Regions from separate parts of the Homo sapiens genome. Here region 2 is linked to region 1. The links are contacts of gene promoters, found by promoter capture Hi-C in human tissues and cell types (Jung and others, 2019). All regions are on one chromosome and are shown on one strand. The core of a region is centred on a gene start or on the middle of the fragment in contact, and the rest is flanking DNA. Distances in the headings are between cores, read along the strand shown.

Region 1 (3,335 bases), core at 211-2,710:
GTCCCAGATTTCAGTTTACTGCTCTTGCCAGTTCAGGGGGCCTTGACTAGTGTAGTAGAAAGAATAAAAACCTAACAAATTGAGCAGGACGGTGACAATGGAAGTTGGAATCCACTAAGAAGTGTGTTAACAACTCACAACTCACCTGCTGAATCAACCAAGACTCCCTAAGAAACAGGATTTTAGTTCCACTACTGCTACTACTGACTGCTTACCTCTGGGAAAAGCACTTAATGTCCTGTGGTCCAAGTGTCTTTAACTATAAAAAGAGAATATTGAACCACATGATTTTCAAAATCCCTTTTAACTATTAACTTGCTTTGATCTAGTTGCTGTCAGACTATGCAGGGTGAATGTTTTGTAACTGGAACCTTTTTGTTGTACAGAACTCTTTCAGCAGGTACTAAATTTGTAGTGCTATCTTCAATTGTCTGGAACAATCAGTCCTAGTTTTACTATCTAGGGATATTTTGCAGTGAAATCATCAACCTCTCAAGCAGGGGCCTCCTTTTCTTTGGCCAGACTTATCTCCACTCTGCTGCATCCACCTTTCCTTGACTGAAGCCCTAAATTCTCATAACCATCACACAAGTAATAGACACACAGTCACCAGTCATTAGCCCCCCTCCCAACAATATTTAGAATCTAATCACTTAAATGAAGCTTCAATGGAAACATCTCCTCATGGAAAATGCAAATCATGTAAAAAGTACAGGTTCTAAGATGATCGCGTGACCACACAGTTGTCATTGGCTAGCCATATCAACGTGGATCTACTCAACATAATTAAAGACAAAATTACCCTCCTCCAAAGTAAAACTATATATTAAAAAAACCCTCTACGACTTAAGATTTTGTTACAATGCAGCCCTTTTCCCTCCTTGCTCATCCCCTCCCTGTCCTGCTCTACTCCTGAGATCCGCATCAGGCCAGGAATAAAGGATGTGGGCGGCCGCGGTTCCCTGGCCTCTCCGGGAGGGCGCGTTCGGCAGTACGCTGGCTGTTGATACCAACGAGAGCCCATTTAAGCGCACCTTGTTTCTCCTGGCACACCCGCTGGATACTGTTCTCCTGGACTTTTCTCTCCGCCGCCGCGGCTTGCTCTTCCGACCACTCCACATTGTCCCTGAGAAAATCAAACGGGCAGCTTAGGGGCTTCACGTCCTGGCTGCGAGCAGGGTGAGTCGCTGGCCTAGGAGTTTCTCTCCCCTTGGAGAGTGCCTCGGGTAGGGCAGCTTGACTCGTGGCCGGCGGTCAGGGGCTTTTCGGAATGCTCCGAGGCGGCGGGACAGACGGCCAGCGACAGGCCGGGCGAGGGGGCAGGGTGATTACCAGGCATTGTGGTGGAAGACGCGCGCCGGATCGCTCAGGAACCGGCTTCCGAACTGCTGCCTCTTATCGGCGAGGATTGCAGGTGCACCTTCAGGGTAGGAGCCGGCCATGACACCGGAGCCGGAAACACTTCACTTTCCGTAACGCGAGAACTTCCTGCGGGCCACGCCCTCTTTCAGAAGACGTGGAGTCTGGGCGGGAAAAAGGGTGGCGGGACAGGGCGGTCCTGGAGTCTGGTCCGGGTGGCGCTCGGGAGCTGTCGTTTGGGGCTTTCCCAGGGTTGGCGAAGGGCTCTCTAGGGAAGGGGACCAGGCAGGGGGAAATTCTCCCCGGAGGAGTCGTATCTCATTGATGAGGTGCTGATGGACGTGCAGGTTAGGCAGAAAGTGGGAGACATTCCACTTGAGGCCCAGTTCATTGCTGGGATCCTCTTAACAGGTTCCCCAGCTTCCCTCAAGTTGTAAAACAGGAATAATCTTGAATCATTATAAGAGTTGAGGCTACCTAGTTCCACTGCGGAGCCGATGTCCAGAACTGAAGAAGGTAGCAAGCAGCGGAAAGAAACAGGGCAATTTCCAGCTTCTATAGTCAGCTCTTCATAGTGTGGGTGTATATGTATACACAGTGTGTATATATATTTTGGTTGGGGTGGGGGAGATGGATATATGAAATTAGAGAACACGAGGCTTAGCAAATCAAATGGAATATCCAAGGACAATTTTTTTTTAATTATAACCATCTAACCTTTTTGAATCATCCATATTATATTTATTATAATTATCCTTATTAGCACAATTAAGATTGTAATACACACATACAGTTTGTCATAGTAATACATTTCAGCCTTACATTTCTATTTCTAGATCTAATACAAATAGACTCTCAAAAGAATCTAGAAGAAAGTATGTTATAGACATAAGGTTATTTGAGAAGACTTCCAAGAGAAGCATGATGAATACCACTTGGAAAAGAAGGAAAGGGCAGAGACCAAACAAGGACCAGCCCAATATCTCTTGGACTTTATTTAATGTCATAATGTCAGAATAAAGGGAAAGATGAATTTTTTTAAAAAAGGAAAGGGTTAGTGCAGTGCTAGACATAGCACATTGGTAATTAGTACTTTTTTTTTTTTTTTTTTGAGACGGAGTCTTGCTCTGTTTCCCAGGCTGGAGTGCAGTAGCTGGATCTCAGCTCGTTATAACCTCCATGTCCTGGGCTCAGGTGATTCTCCTGCCTCAGCCTCCTGAGTAGCCGGGATTACAGGTGCGCGCTACCACACTCGGCTAATTTTTGTATTTTTAGTAGAGATGGGGTTTCACCATGTTGCCTGGGCTGGTCCTGAACTCCTGACCTCAAATGATCTGCCCACCTCGGTCTCCCAAAGTGTTGGGATTACAGGTGTGAGCCACCGTGCCCAGCCAGTAATTGTTTATTCCATTGTAAATTCTTTCTGTAGGTAAAACTACAGGGAGCAATGAATGATTCTATACTTTTCCTCCAAAGAAATGGGAACAAGCTCTAAGCCTCTCTAATCAGGAAGAAAAATACACAAGTTAATCAAAAAGATAGTAAAGAAGTTGTACTTCATTTGAAGACAATATGCTTTTGCCATTCTTGTGGTCTTTGGAAACATTTTGAACACAAGCTCCATACCCAGAAACAAGTACAAGGAATTTTTATCTTTTCTCAAGGCCAGCTGTTTGCAGATATGGTGGTTGATTTACATTTATTTCTGGCATCTTGTTTTCTCATCTGTGGGCTTTTATTCTCCCCTCACTAAAAGCTGTTAGTGTTCCCAATCAACAGTCCCACTGGATATTTTCTTGCAGACAGCTCATTGTCTTCACTTGAATTTACTATATTAGTTCCAATGGAGACATTTTAAATGTCAAACAGCTTTGGCCTTTTTTCTATGAAATGTGCTAAAGTATCCTAAACTTAATTTTATTTTTTATTTTTATTTATTTATTTATTTATTTATTTTTGAGACGGAGTCTCGCACT
Region 2 (3,335 bases), core at 577-3,076, 73 kb before region 1:
CGACACAGTCTAGTTAAAATGTCAGATTGGGCTGGGCACGGTGGCTCACACCTGTAATCCCAGCACTTTGGGAGGCCAAGGTGGGTGGATCACCTGAGGTCAGGAGTTCGAGACCAGCCTGGCCAACATGGTAAAACCCCGTATCTACTAAAAATACAAAATATTAGCTGGGCATGGTGGCACAGGACTGTAACCCCAGCTACTTAGGAGGCTGAGGTAGGAGAATCACTTGATCCTGGGAGGTGGAGGTTGCAGTAAGCCTAGATCGTGCCACTGCACTCTGGCCCGCGCAACAAGAGCAAAACTCTGTCTCAAAAGAATACAATACAATACAAATGTCAAATTGGCTTGACTTTAGCTCAACTTTTATCAACTCCTAATAGATGAAAGGATTTCAACTCCCTGTAGTAAAACTTACCACAAACTATCTAAAGCTCTCATTAATAAAATTGGAGAAATAAAGTACTGCTTAATAAATTCAGTCTAATAATGGGGGAAAAAGCCTTTTAAAACATGGTCTCAAGAGTGGGAGGAATAACAGTAAAAGGTTGGGAATTAGATTTAGTCCAGTCTCTTCCACAATGACTTTCCACACAACATCTCTAATAATTATGTACATAGCTTCTGCTCAAATACTTCCTGTAAGAGAAAAATACTGTGTAGAGAAAAACAAAGCAGTGTGCTTAATTCAGGTCAACTAACTACAAGTCAGTGGTTTCTTTAACCTATTTTGAGTCACAGAATTTTTTTTTTTTTTTTTTCTGAGACAGGGACTCACTCTGTTACCCAGGCTGAAGTGTAGAAGTGCAAATACAACTCACTCTAGCCTTGACCTCAACCTCCAAGGCTCAGGTGATCCTCCCACTTCAGCCTCCTGGACAGATGCAGATGGGACTATAGGCACATGCCACCATGCCCGGCTAATTGTTTGTATTTTTTGTAGAGATGGGGTTTCACCACTTTGCCCAGGCTGGTCTCAAACTCCTAGGCTCAATGGTCCTCTTGCCTTGGCCACCCAAAGTGCTGGGCCTCGCCACTGTGCCTGGCCAAAGAACTTTTTTTTTTTTTTTTTGAGATGGAGTCTCGCTCTGTTGCCCAGGCTGGAGTGCAGTGGTGCGATCTTGGCTCACTGCAAGTTCTGCCTCCCGGGTTCACACCATTCTCCTGCCTCAGCCTCCCGAGTAGCTGGGACTACAGGCGCCCCCCACCATGCCCAGCTAATTTTTTTTGTACTTTTAGTAGAGACGGGGTTTCACTATGTTAGCCAGGATGGTCTCAATCTCCTGACCTCGTGATCCACCTGCCTCAGCCTCCCAAAGTGCTGGGATTACAGGCATGAGCCACCGTGCCCAGCCCCAAACAACTTTCTAAGAACGTAATAAAACCATGGACTCTTTCTAAAGAAAAATATACATCCATGTATATACACACACAAATATTTACCTATCATTTCACAGAGTTCAAGGACCCTGATGCCTGTCCACCCCTTGCCATACTTGACCATGGGAGACAAATTCCCCCTCTCCATGGAGAAGAATGTGGCCATATCTACTAAAATTACAAATGCATATATCCTTGAAAAAAGCAATTCCATTTCTAGGGATTTATCCCGTAAATGTATCTGAATGTGTGTTAAATGACATTATGTACAAGATTATTCACTATAGCACTATTTATATCAACAAAACACTGCTGTCCATCTAAGTGTCCATCAACAGGAAACGGTTCAGCCATACAATGAAATACAAAGCAGCCTTGAAAAACAGAACAAGGAAGCTCTATATGTATGAATGTAAAACAATTCCTGAAATATCTTAAGCACAAGAAGCAAAATGCACAATAGTTTATATAATATAGTTGCATTTTTTAAAAATGGAAGGGTTGAATATACAAAAGTATTTGCAGATATATCTCTCAAATATAAGAAACTTTATAACAGTTGTCTCTAGGAAGGAAACCAGGTGGATAAGGGAGAAATGTAGAAGAGATGTTTCACTGTATATCTGTGAAAGATTCTGAATTGTGTACTATATATTAACTAGTAAAAAATTTTAATTTTGGGGCCAGGCATGGTGGCTCACGCCTATAATCACAGCACTTTGAGAGGCAGAGGTGGGTGGATTGCCTGAGCTCAGGAGTTCGAGACCAAAGCCTCGACAACACGATGAAACCCCGTCTCTACTAAAAAACAAAAAAAAAATTAGCTGGGCATGGCGGTGTGCGCCCATAATCCCAGCTACTCGGGAGGCTGAGACAGGAGAATCGCTTGAACCTGGGAGGTGGAAGTTGCAGTGAGCCGAGATCATGACATTGCACTCCAGCCTGGGTGACAGAGTAAGACTCCGTCTCCAAAAAATATATATATATATAATTTTTAAAATTTTTTACCACATACCTAGACTTCAAGGAAACTAATCAAGATTAATTATTTAAAAACACGTCTCGGCCAGGCGTGGTGGCTCACGCATGTAATCCCATCACTTTGGGAAGCTGAGGCGGGAGGATCACTTGAGCCTGGGAGGCGGAGGTTGCAGTGAACCAAGACTGCGCCACTGCACTCCAGCCTGGGTGACAGAGCGAGACCCTATCTAAAAATAAAAATAAAAAATAAAAAAGGCCTCTGCCCTGGACTCTAAACTCTTTTGCTAAGCTTCAAAACCAAGCTATCCTGTACTCATCATTCTTTAATTTATTCCTAATAATATTGTATCAAAATTGTTCTGAGTTTTTTGTTTTTTGAGATGGAGTTTCCCTCCTGTTGCGCAGGCTAGACTGCAATGGTGTGATCTTGGCTCACCACCACCTCATGCCCGGCCATGAGGTTGTTTATCTACAGTAATCGTTTCCCTTTTTTTTGGAGATAGGGTCTTGCTCTGTCACCCAGGCTGAAGCGCAGTGGTGCAATCTTGGCTCACAGCAACCTCCGCCTCCCGTGTTCAAGTGATCCTCCTGCCTCAGCCTCCCAAGTAGTTGAGGTTACAAGTGCCCACCACCATGCCCAGCTAATTTTTGTATTTTTTAGTAAAGACGGGGTTTCACCATGTTGGCCAGGCTGGTCTTAAGCTCCTCACCTCCAGTGATTCACCTGCCTCGGTCTCCCAAAGTGCTAGGATGATAGGCATGAGCCACCACACCCAGCCAATCTACAGTAATCTTAATTCTGCTTTCTGAGCAATACACAATGAACAAGTTAATTATACTCCCTTATTCTGGGCTCATAATACCTTCCCATCAGCATGTCCATCCTCAGCTATGTGCCATAGGCATCTGAGTCCCTGTTTGTCTGATTATAAATGCCTCAAGACTATACAATGCATCTGGGCCAGGCACGGTGG

Evidence for each region. The method cuts DNA at HindIII sites, captures the fragments that hold promoters and counts their contacts. A contact is called where the count stands out against the background at its distance.
Region 2: a contact is called between a fragment that was not itself captured here and the fragment with the promoter of METTL2B in region 1, in 3 of the 25 tissues and cell types used here (H1 embryonic stem cells, spleen and stomach).

What each region holds. Positions count from the first base shown.
Region 1 is chr7:128,474,873-128,478,207 of GRCh38, reverse strand. It overlaps METTL2B (methyltransferase 2B, tRNA N3-cytidine), which reads right to left and starts at 1,460. Exons shown (of 9, transcript NM_018396.3): 1 at 1,333-1,460; 2 at 1,035-1,126. The coding sequence starts at 1,442. RefSeq lists enhancers at 1,184-1,353, 1,574-1,623. The HindIII fragment of the contact is 14,580 bases long and covers 1-3,335 here.
Region 2 is chr7:128,548,592-128,551,926 of GRCh38, reverse strand. No RefSeq gene overlaps it. Among named protein-coding and RNA genes, the nearest start is that of METTL2B, 74 kb to the right of the region's middle. The HindIII fragment of the contact is 6,373 bases long and covers 1-3,335 here.